2 separate regions of the Homo sapiens genome follow, and region 2 is linked to region 1. The links are contacts of gene promoters, found by promoter capture Hi-C in blood cells and fetal thymus (Javierre and others, 2016). All regions are on one chromosome and are shown on one strand. Each heading gives the region's core, a stretch centred on a gene start or on the middle of the fragment in contact. The rest is flanking DNA. Distances are from core to core; before and after follow the strand shown. Region 1 holds the start of BMAL2-AS1 (BMAL2 antisense RNA 1). Region 2 holds the start of REP15 (RAB15 effector protein).

Evidence for each region. The method cuts DNA at HindIII sites, captures the fragments that hold promoters and counts their contacts. A CHiCAGO score of 5 or more calls a contact.
Region 2: the fragment with the promoter of REP15 here is called in contact with the fragment with the promoter of BMAL2-AS1 in region 1 in 10 of 17 cell types (endothelial precursors, non-activated CD4 T cells, total B cells and 7 more); the score reaches 7.1 in endothelial precursors.

What each region holds. Positions count from the first base shown.
Region 1 is chr12:27,443,452-27,448,918 of GRCh38, forward strand. BMAL2-AS1 (BMAL2 antisense RNA 1) reads right to left here and starts at 3,183. Exons shown (of 4, transcript NR_109975.1): 1 at 3,046-3,183. SMCO2 (single-pass membrane protein with coiled-coil domains 2) reads left to right here and starts at 3,285. Exons shown (of 9, transcript NM_001395208.2): 1 at 3,285-3,374. The HindIII fragment of the contact is 11,011 bases long and covers 1-5,467 here.
Region 2 is chr12:27,693,771-27,700,025 of GRCh38, forward strand. REP15 (RAB15 effector protein) reads left to right here and starts at 2,677. Exons shown (of 1, transcript NM_001029874.3): 1 at 2,677-3,826. The coding sequence starts at 2,793. The coding sequence ends at 3,503. It overlaps PPFIBP1 (PPFIB scaffold protein 1), which reads left to right. Exons shown (of 30, transcript NM_003622.4): 30 at 1-1,794. The region is part of intron 3 of MRPS35-DT (MRPS35 divergent transcript); the gene reads right to left. The HindIII fragment of the contact is 1,154 bases long and covers 1,952-3,105 here.

The sequences.
Region 1 (5,467 bases), core at 1,933-4,432:
GAACCACACAAGGATGTCCACTTTCAACACTGTTATTCAACGTAATATTGGAAAGTCCTGGCCAGAGTAATTTGGCAAAAGAAAGAAACAAAAGGCATCTAAACTGGAAAGGAAGAAGTCAAATGAGCCTTGTTTGCACATGACAAATCTTATACCTAGAGAAACCTAAAGACTCCACCACAAAACTGTTAGAACTGATAAATTCAATAAAGGTGCAGGACACAAAATCAACATACAAAAATCAATAGTATTTATATATGCCACCAGTGAACAATTTGTAAAAAATCAAGACACCTAGGAATCAATCTAACCAAAGAAGTGAAAGATCTATACAAGGAAAACAATAAAATTCTGATGAAAGACATTGAACAGGACACAATAAAATTGAAAGATACTCCATGCTCATGGATTGAAATAATTAATATTGTTAAAATTACAATACTACCCAAATTAATTTACAGATTCAATGCAATCCCTATCAAAATACCAGTGACATTCTTCACAGAAAGAGAGAAAACAATCCTAAAATTTATATGGAACCATGAAATACTTCAAATAGCCAAAGCAATCCTGAACAAAAAGAATAAAGCTGGAGGCATCACGCTACCTAACTTCAAAATTTACCACAAAGCTATAGTAACCAAAGCAGCATGATTTTATGCCAGTATGCCAGCATATTGGCATAAAAACAGACACACATAGACCAATGGAACAGAATAGAGAACCCAGATATAAATCCACGCATTTACAACCAACTCATCTTTGACGAAGGCATCAAGAACATACAATAGGGAAAGGACAGTCTTTCCAATAAATGGTGCTGGGGAAACTGGATAACTATATGCAGAAGAATGAAACTAGACCCTTATCTCTCAACATATACAAAAATCAAATCAAAATGGATTATTGACTTGAATCTAAGACCTGAAACTGTGAAACTACTAGAAGAAAACACAGGGCAAATACTCAAGGGCATTGGTCTGGGCAAAGATTTCTTGTGTAAGACCTCAAAAGTATAGGCCATCAAAGCAAAAATAGACAATTGGGATTACATCCAGCTAAAGAGCTCCTGCACAGCAAAGGAAACAACTAACAAAGTGAATAGACAACCCACAAAATGAGAGAAAATATTTGTAAACATCACTAAATCATCAGAGAAATGCAAATAAAAAACACAATGTGATCGTATCTGTCACCTCAGTTAAAATAGCTTGTATCAAAAGGACAGGCAGTAACAGAGGCCTACAAGGACGTGGAGAAAGGGGAACCCTCATCCACTATTGCTGGGAGTATAAGTTAGTACCACCACTATGAAGAATAGTATGGAGGCTGCTCAACACACTAAAGATAGAACTACCATATGATCCAGCAATGCCACTCCTGGGTATATATGTGAAAGAAAGGAAATCAATATATCAAAGAGATAGCTGCACGCCCGTGTTTATTGCAGCACTATTCACAATAGCCAAAATATGAAATGAATCTAAGTGCCCATCAATGGATGAATGGATAAAGAAAATGTGATATATATATACACAGTGGAGTATTATTAAGCTATAAAAAAAGAATGAAATCCTGCCCTTTGCAGCAACATGGATAGAAATGGAGGCCATTATGCTGTGTGAAATAAGCCAAGCACAGAGAGACAAATATCGTATGTTCTCACTCATATGTGGGAGCTAAAAAAAGTGAATCTCGTGAAGATAGACAGTAGATTGGTGGTTACCAGAGGCAGCGAAGGGGAGGGGAATAAAGGCAAAACAAAGAATATCAATGTATTTATTGCTACTGAACTGCATTTAAAAATGGTAAATATGGTAAATTATACATGTATAGTGTACCTCAATAAAATTTTTAAAAATACAGGAACCCAGTTTAATTTGAATTTCAGATAAACCATGAATTTTTTTTAGAATAAGTATATTCCATGCACTATTTGGCATATAATTATATTAAACATGTTTTTACTGTTTACTTGAAATTCAAATTTAACTGGGTGTTCTATATTTTATCTGACAACCCTATTAAGAGTTTTGAATTTCAATAATTCATATCACAGCCTTAGTTTAGGATTCTAAAATATGAAACAAAAGCCACAATTTCAAAACTGAAAACTTGCAACGTAAACTATATAAGCTCAATTTGTTACAGCTGCAATTCACTCAGACCCACATGTCCCAAGATAAGACCACAGACAAACCATTTTAACAGTTAACTCCACAGGGACCCATGTGTCCCAGCAAGACCACTTACCTTTCCACAAGTGTCTTAGCTCAGGCTGCCATCACGAAATACCACAGAGTGGGTGGCTTAAACAACAGAAATTTATTTTCTCACAGTTCTGGAGAATAGAAGTCCAAGATCAAGTGCTAGCATGGTCTGTTTCTGGTGAGGGCTCTCTTTCTGGCTTGTAGAAGGTGGCCTTCTTTTTTTCTTTTTCTTTTTCTTTCTCTCTCTCTCTTTTTTTTTTAAGACAGAGTCTTGCTCTGTCGCCCAGTCTGGAGTGCAATGGCGTGATCTCAGCTCACTGTAACCTCTGCCTCACAGGTTCAAATGATTCTCCTGCCTCAGCCTCCCAAGTAGCTGGGATTATAGGCACCCACCAACACGCCCAGCTACTTTTTGTATTTTTAGTAGAGATGGGGTTTCACCATGTTGGCCAGGCTGGTCTTGAACTCCTGACCTCGTAATCCACCCACCTCAGCCTCCCAAAGTGCTAGGATTACAGGCATGAGCCACTGCACCTGGCCAATGGTGGCCTTCTTAATGTGTCCTCACATGGTGGGAGTTGGGAAGCAGGGATTGGGAACAGAGGGAGCAGGAGGGGAAGGGGAGAGAGAGATGGAGGAGGGAGAGAGAAAGCTCTCTGGTGCCTCTTCTTATAAGGGCACTAATCTCATTTATGAGGGCCCCACCCTCATAACCTCATCTAACCTTAATTATCTCCCAAAGGCCTGATCTCCAAATACCATCACATTGGGGCGTAGGTCTTCAACATATGAATTTGGAGGGAAAAACAATTCAGTCAATAACACAGAAACTTACCTAGTTTATAAATTGGATCAATCCCTGACAAAACGTCACTGATCAACTTCCACTCTGAAAATACTCCATGACTAACCAGCATCCTAACCTCCCCACTTTGAGACACTATGGGACTCTATCAAGATGATGTTGATCCTCGAGTTTAATAAGAGCCAATGTGGGTTCTGTGACATCATCATCTCTCTGCTTCTGATTGGTCAAGTATCCTCTCTCTCTCCCCACTTTTCTCCCTCTAATCCAGTGGTTCTCAAACATTAGCTGTACCTGAGGCCCTTGGGGAGCTTCTTAAACCTCAGGCTGCTGGGCCCACTCCCGGAGTTCCTGATTCAGTAAGTCTGGGAGGGGGCCTGGGAATTTGCATTTCTAACAAGTTCCCTGATGCTTTTGCTGATGCTGGTCCAGGGACCATGCTTTAAGAACTTCTGCCTTAGAGATCCTCTTGAATTGTCTGGGGTCGGGGTTAGGGACGGTGGCTGAGCATTGGCATTTTATAAAGTTCCCCACGTGATTCTGACATGGAGACAGCATTGAAAACACTGTTCTAATGCAGTTTCCACACTGTAGTCAGTGTGCTTTTTGGAAAGCACAGATCCGATAAAGGAACTCATCAGCTTAAAACAGTGAATGGCATCTCACTGCCCTCAGTAATAGACACAGCCCCTTAACAAGGCTTATGGGGCCCTGTATGATGGGTTTCCATTTACTTCACTTTCACCTCCAGCCCCTTCTTGAGCTACCTCACCACCTCATGCCCCACAGTCCAGGATTACTGGGGAAACCACAGTTCCCTGAAGATGATCTTGATCCTTTTCTCCATAAGGCTTTGCCCATTCTGCATCTTTACTGGGGAAGCTGTCACCACCGACACACCTCTCTACCTGGCTAACCCTTTCTTGCTCTTCAGAGCCTTACTACTAACAGGGTGATCCATGGACCAGCTGCAACAGCCTCTTCGGGAGCTTGTTAGAAAGGCAGAATCGGCCAGGTGCGGTGGCTCACACCTGTAATCCCAGCACCTTGGGAGGCCAAGGTGGGAGGATCGCTTCAGCCCAGGAGCCTGAGACCAGCCTGGCAACACAGCAAAACCTTGTCTCTATAAAAAATACAAAAACTTAGCTGGGCATGGTGATCCGCATCTGTAGTCCCAACTACTCGGGAGGCTAAGGTGGGAGGAGGTCAAGGCTGCAGTGAGTGGTGATCGCAGGCTGGGAGACAGAGCAAGACTCTGTCTCAAAAAAAAAAAAAAAAAGCAGAACTTTAGGCCTCACTCCAGACCTCCTGAATCAGAACCTACATTTTAACAAGATCCTAGAATGATTCACATTTACAGTAAAATTTGAGAAACTGTTTTCGGGCTTCTGTAGATGTACTTTCTCTGGACTTACGCGTCTGAGCCCCAGAAACTCAGCCGAGTGCCTCTCCTATGTGCTGCCACCGCAACCTTCCCTAGCACTTAACACATTGCACCTGACCAGAGCCAAGTGGCCTGCAAGCTCCGCAGGGACAGGAACTGTATCTTTACGCATGCTTGCATTCTCCACTCCAGCACAGTACCTGACACATAGCAGATGCTCAAAAATAGTTATCAATTAAATACATGTTTTTAGAAACAAGTAGAGAAAGTATTAGCTTTCCGGTTAGAAAATTTTGGACTTAAGTTCTTGATTTACCACTTACTAGCTGTAGGACCTTGAACAAGTCACCCTCCTCCCAGAAGTTGTTACTCATTGTTAAATTGAGAATATTATCAAGTACCCTACAGAGGTGTTGTCAGGATTAGTGACATAATAGATGTAAACCCAGAATGCTATGTCTGCCAGGTCAGAATTGCACGATAAAGAAGAGTGCCCTCCGCCTTAGTTCTCCCAAGCGGCAAGTCTTTACTGAGTTTAGTAGAATACTACTTGTTGAAATAGAAAGGGTGGCCACACTTGAACTTAATGCCATTTTTCTTTCTATTTTCCCCCAACTGCATAAAAGCAAAACCAAATAAACAAACCTGAGAATTGAACTGGAATCAATGCTTTTCTCGGCATTGTGTCAGAAGAACAAAACTTAAACTGGGGCCAGCAGACCCTTAAGCTCCTTAAGCCAGGCTCTGGGACCCTTGGGATTAAATTTTTAAAATCCTCTCTCCAGTTCTAAACAAAAGTAAACAAGGGAACCTTTTATAATGTGGTTCAAGGTGAGGCAGTAAACAAATGACCTTTAAGCAGAATAATCAGCTTAATATGTACTAGCTGGAGGTTAACATTTGCATTGAGAAAGGTCTTATGGTCTTATTGATAATTCACTCGGAGGTCACTCTAACATCCTCTACCCTCATTCTCCAACCACATGATTCTCTAAACCCCTCAATCTCCCGCTCCCACACATAGTCTACCAGTTGACCAAATAATGAGAGAAGAATGGAATTGTCAAA
Region 2 (6,255 bases), core at 1,427-3,926, 250 kb after region 1:
CTCCTGGGTCAAGCCATTCTGCTTCAGCCCCAAGTAGGTGGGACTCCAGGCATGCACCACCATGCCTGGCTAATTTTTGCATTTTTAGTAGAGACAGGGTTTCACCATATTGGCCAGGCTGGGACTCGAACTCCTGACCTTGTGATCTGCCCGCCTCAGCCTCCCAAAGTACTGGGATTATAGGCATGAGCCACCACGCCCAGCCTGTTATTTTTTTATTATTATTGTTTTTTTTTAGTGACAGAGTCTCATTCTGTTGCCCATGCTGGAGTGCAGTGGCGTGATCATAGCTCACTGCAGCCTTGAATTCCTAGGCTCCAGTGATCCTCTCACCTCAGCTTCCCTAATAGCTAGGATTACAGGTGTGTGGCCTCCCACCCCACCCCACCCTTCACACCTGGCTGATTTTTCAAAAAGTTTTTTTGTAGAAACAGGGTCTCACCATGTTGTCCAGCCTGGTCTCAAACTCCTGTCCTCAAGTGATCCTCCCACCTCAGCCTTTCAAAGTGCTGGAATTACAGGTGTGAGCCACTCTGCCTGGCCTACCACTAACTTGAATACATTCAGAATCACCTCCTCTCCCCAAAATTTGTAGAAATAGTTTTTGAGGAAGCCAAAAGCAAAGCAGAAACCTTTACAGTATTGTTTCTTTTCTCTTTGTTAACTGTGTCATTACAGCAAAATACTAGCAGTCTGCCTAAACATGTTCATTGTACATTTCTCAGGCTATCAATGAATGGAGGTTTTTAAAAAGTTGAATATTTGTCTGAACATTTTATTTCAAAGTTCAAAAAAACAGAGGCTGCAAAATTCATTTTATAATGGCTATTTTGTGACGATAAGATGTAGTTCATGTTTTTCTGTAGCACTGGGCCCAAATATTCTTTGTAAAGAAAATCGCTGCAGCAAAAACTGTTACTGTGTTTATTATATTTGTAGAAGTATTAGAAAAATATTCTATTTTTTATTCAGTGCTGCGTAATTACCCATGGTAGCCAACCCTACAAAAGACAGGTTTTCACAAATTGAGGTGGAGGTGGGCGGTTCAGTATCTGCCACTGGACTTGATTATAAACTGTATTTGAATATCAGTGGTATTATCTTTTAAGTTGTCAGCAAGTTACCAAGGTATTCATTAAAGAACTTGTAATATCAAATTACTATTTATTCATAACAATTGATTTGATGCTAATAATAATTTTCTTTAAACTCTACCATTCATTATGTGGTAACTGTATTGAACTTACTTTATTTGGATTTTATTTTAATGTGACTAGATGTCACCACTTCAAAAAATCAATTTGTTCTTAGAACCTGGTTGAAAATACCAGGAAACTGTTACAGACGCCATTTTTTTTTTTTTTGAGACGGAGTCTTGCTCTGTTGCCCAGGCTGGAGTGCAGTGGCACAATCTCAGCTCACTGCAAGCTCCGCCTCCTGGGTTCACGCCATTCTCCCACCTCAGCTTCCCAAGCAGCTGGGACTACAGGTACCTGCCACCACGCCTGGCTAATTTTGTTTTTGTATTTTTAGTAGAGACGGGGTTTCACCGTGTTAGCCAGGAAGGTCTCAATCTCCTGACCTCGTGAATCGCCCCCCTCGGTCTCCCAAAGTGCTGGGATTACAGGCGTGAGCCACCATGCCCGGCCCAAATATTTTTTATTCAGGATGGTATAACCTAACTGATAATAGGTAATAAGGTTAAATTTTTTTATGACGTATTTTATTTACAAATATCATACACTGCTGGTGTTACCATATGAAAGGAAATAAAGTCAATTGATAATTGCCTCATTTTTATTGCCCTTATTTCATTTTCCGTTGTTCATAGTAACAGGCTTTGTTTCTGACATAGAAAATAACACAATCTCTTTATAAACTGCCATAAATTTGTTCGAATGGAGTTTATAATGTGTATCAACAGATAGGAATTTGAGGCCTTTGTTTGAGAAGCTTTTGTAGGAAAAGAAGCAACTGAGCTGGGGAATGAAGAATCATGGCAGAAGGTAAAAGAAACAAAAACAAACAAAAAAAGAAAATAGGAAAAGCAAATGGAAATGACTCACCTAGAGATTGGAAGAAGTTAGTTGTAGAAAGAGGTGTATGGATATTTAAAAAACTAACATAGGGCTGGGTGCAGTGGCTCATGCCTATAATCCCAGCACTTTGGGAGGCCGAGGCGGGAGGATTGCTTGAGCCTAGGAGATTGAGACCAGCCAGGACAACATGGTGAAACCCCACCTCTACAAAAAATACACAAAAATTAGCCAGGTGTGGTGGTATACACTTGTAGCCCCAGCTACTCAAGAGGCTGAGGTGAGATCACCTGAGCCCAGGGAGGTTGAAGCTGCAGTGAGCCATGATTGCGCCACTGCACTCCAGCCTGGGTAGCAGAGTGAGACCCTGTCTCAAAAAACAAAAACAAAAAGAACTAACGTGCTATTTTTACTTCAACTAAAACTTGGAAAGAGGAAACATGTTGGAAGAGATTACCAAAGATTAAAAGTAGAGTGAATATAACCTAGATAGAACAGATGTTTTGTGTGAAATTTAGTATCTTTAACTTAATAAACCAGCAGGAACTGTATGAACACAACACACCCAACTGACAAACAGAGAGAACTAACATGTTTATTTAGCTGTATGTATATATGCTTAACTACACCCGAGGAAGCTGTAGAGTTAGAAAAACATGAACCATTAACAGATGTGGCCTCCCTGCAGAACTTTTACTTTGAAAAAGAAGTACGTCTGAACCAGATTCACATGTTTGATATTTGGATGCAGAGAAAATGGGGCAGAAAGCATCGCAACAGTTGGCTCTGAAGGACAGCAAAGAGGTGCCCGTCGTCTGTGAGGTGGTCAGTGAAGCTATAGTCCATGCAGCTCAGAAACTGAAGGAGTACCTTGGATTTGAATATCCTCCAAGTAAACTCTGCCCAGCTGCAAATACTCTGAATGAGATCTTCTTAATCCATTTCATCACTTTCTGCCAAGAAAAGGGAGTTGATGAGTGGCTGACCACCACCAAGATGACCAAGCACCAAGCCTTCCTGTTTGGTGCAGACTGGATTTGGACCTTTTGGGGATCCAACAAGCAAATAAAGCTTCAGCTCGCAGTACAGACTCTGCAGATGTCTTCACCTCCTCCTGTGGAATCTAAGCCTTGTGACCTTTCCAATCCAGAATCAAGGGTAGAGGAGTCTTCCTGGAAGAAAAGTAGATTTGATAAGCTGGAAGAATTCTGTAACTTAATAGGAGAGGATTGCCTGGGTCTGTTTATCATCTTTGGTATGCCAGGAAAGCCTAAAGACATCAGGGGAGTTGTCCTGGACAGTGTCAAAAGTCAGATGGTGAGGAGCCATCTGCCAGGAGGGAAGGCTGTGGCTCAGTTTGTCCTGGAAACTGAAGATTGTGTGTTCATCAAAGAGCTGCTCAGAAATTGTCTGAGTAAGAAAGACGGGCTGAGAGAGGTGGGCAAGGTTTATATCAGCATTCTCTGACTTGGATATGTATTATGTGAGTGGCCTGTAAGAGGAAAAGAAAAAAAGATTCTAATAAGCAAGCTCACCTATTTGCATCATTCCAGCATGGGATTTTTTTTCATTTGTTTTCCCATTGATTGAAAATGATTACTGGGATCAAAGTACATTCATGTCGCAATTACAGAGAGAGAGAGAAAAAAAGAAAACCCTGGCTCTGCCTATGATTTAAAAACAGTTCAGGAAAAGTTATAATTTAGTTTAATATTTCATTCACTTATTCAATAATAAAAATGGAAGAGAGATAATAAAGTCACATTTAAAGTTTGATTTGCAAAAAAAAAGTGTCTGTTTGAAATAATAAGTCTAGCACTCAAAAGTATAAAATGTGTTTTTGCATCTGTTGGTGGGAGATGGGTAGGATAAAGTAGTGGGTAAGGCTACAGAGCAGGTTTAATTACATTTGTAATGCCAGTTTCAAGCCAGGCACAGTGGCTTATGCCTATGGTCTCAGCTACTCAGTAGGCTGAGGTGGGAGGATCGCTTGAGCCCAGGAGTTTAAGGCTACAGTGAGCTGTGATTGCACCACTGTGCTCTAGCCTGGGCAACAGAGTGAATCCTCATCTTTAAAAAAAAAAAAATAGTTTGGGTTCAGGACTCCTGCACAAAACTCACAGCGTTCTTTTCCTCTAACACTTACCTTATTCTGTCTTCTCCCTAGCTGCTGTCTCTGCACTGAGAGGACTTTGATGGGATTTACTTTGAGATTCACTTTAGTGTTAGCTCTGCCTATGATTTAAAAACAGTGACCTATAAAACTATTCCTTTTAATAATACTTGTTTAGCCTTTGCAGTAAGGAAGGTGTATTCACATATAATAACCATTTTTACTTAAAAGCCAGTGTGGAATTATAACAGTACAAAAAGGAATCACCATTATTTATTGCACTTGTAAGTCAAGTCAGATGCTTTACATATATTAGCGTGATTTGCATGTGTCTTCCATGACTCTAAGAGGTTTCTATTTGCCAAATCAAAGAGGCTAGATAACTCATAAATCTATTAAGTGGCTTGTAACAAAAAAGTAAAGTCTGCCCAGTTACAAAGCCCATATTCTACAGTCGTGTAAAGAAAATTCCCTGTAAGCCTATAAATTAGGTTAAGTAAAAATCAATTAAAAAAAAAAGAAGAAGAAAAGAAAATTCTTTGGCCAGGAAGAGTAGCTGTGATCCCAACACTTTGGGAGTCTGAGGCAGGAGGATTGCTTGAGCCCAGGAATTCAAGACCAGCCTGGACAACATGGTGAAACCCCATCTCTACAAAAAATACAAAAAGTCATGGTGATGTGTGCCTGTAGTCCCAGCTACTTGGGAGGCTGAGGTAGGGGGACTGCTTGGGTCCGGGAGGTCAAGGTTGCAGTGAGTCGTGATCGTGCCACTGCCCTCCAGCCTAGGCAACAGAGCAAGACCCCATCTCAATAAATACATAAAAAGAAAATTCTCTGATTTTAAACTACTGGAATTGCTGAGACAACAAAGGTGTTCACCTGCAAAAATGCTAGCTGGTTACTGTTGCTCATTTTTCCTCCATTTCCTGGCCTTAATCTGTGGCTACTTTTCCTGTTGTTGAACCACCTGTTCACTGATACGCAGCCATTAGAAACATGGGCTGAATCCTTTCAACTGCATCCAACCTCTTAAAATCGTTTCTGTTTCTGACAGTCTTCTTATGGCCTTGGCCTTTTCTGTATTTTGGAATTTAGGGCATGTTCCTGTGAGGCTGAATTAAGACATATGAGCGCAATGTGGCGTCATGCAGGTATTCCATAGTAAGAAATACATTTGTTGCTGTGATCTGTATAACTGAAGCATGTTGCAGTGCACTCTGATAGTTTGTCCTACATCGGTTTGTAAAATGCTGACTGCAAGCCACCAAATTGATATCATGACCAGCAATAGGCCACAATGCAGAGTCGTAAAAACTTTGTCATGGTAGAAGGAGTGAGAGCTTTCGAGTTTAGTTGAGGACAAACCTGCTTAAAATCCCAGCTCTTTTATTTACACGTATCCAACCAAACCTCTGTGCTGGTTATTCTCATTTCAACCTCCACATCTACTCCCCACCTTGTCTGCCTTCTTCTGGGCTCTAACTGCATCACTCTGGCTTCCATCCAGTGGAGAGCACGAGATCAGAAAGGGGACAGGTCTGGAATGTATTAGCCCAACTTTCCCTGCCTCACTACGATGCTTGGTTCCAGACAGCTCCTGTCCAGCTGGCCCTTCTCTGAGACTCCAGCTCCCTCCCCTTCCCCTCTCAGGCCATTGTCCCTTCCGGGGTGCTTCATCATTCTTTGTTAGTTCCTTGCACCCTGCCCCCACCCTGTAGATGTACTTTTTCCTTAGGTAGACTTGAGGGTGCCATTTGATTTCTTCTGTAGCCCTAATGCCTCCTGATTTTCCTATCTAAAAACCGGAGATGACAATACCCACCTCGTAGAACTGCTATTCGTTATAGAATTAAGAATAGCCAAGCGCGGTGGCTCACACCTGTAATCCCGGCACTTTGGGAGGCTGAGGCAGGCAGATCACGAGGTCAGGAGTTCAAGACTAACCTGACCAACATGGTGAAACCCCATCTCTACTAAAAACACAAAAATTAGCCGTGGCACATGCCTGTAATCCCAGCTACTCAGGAGGCTGAGGCAGGAGAATCACTTGAACCCGGGAAGTGGAGGTTGGAGTGAGCTAAGATGGCGCCACTGCACTCCAGCCTG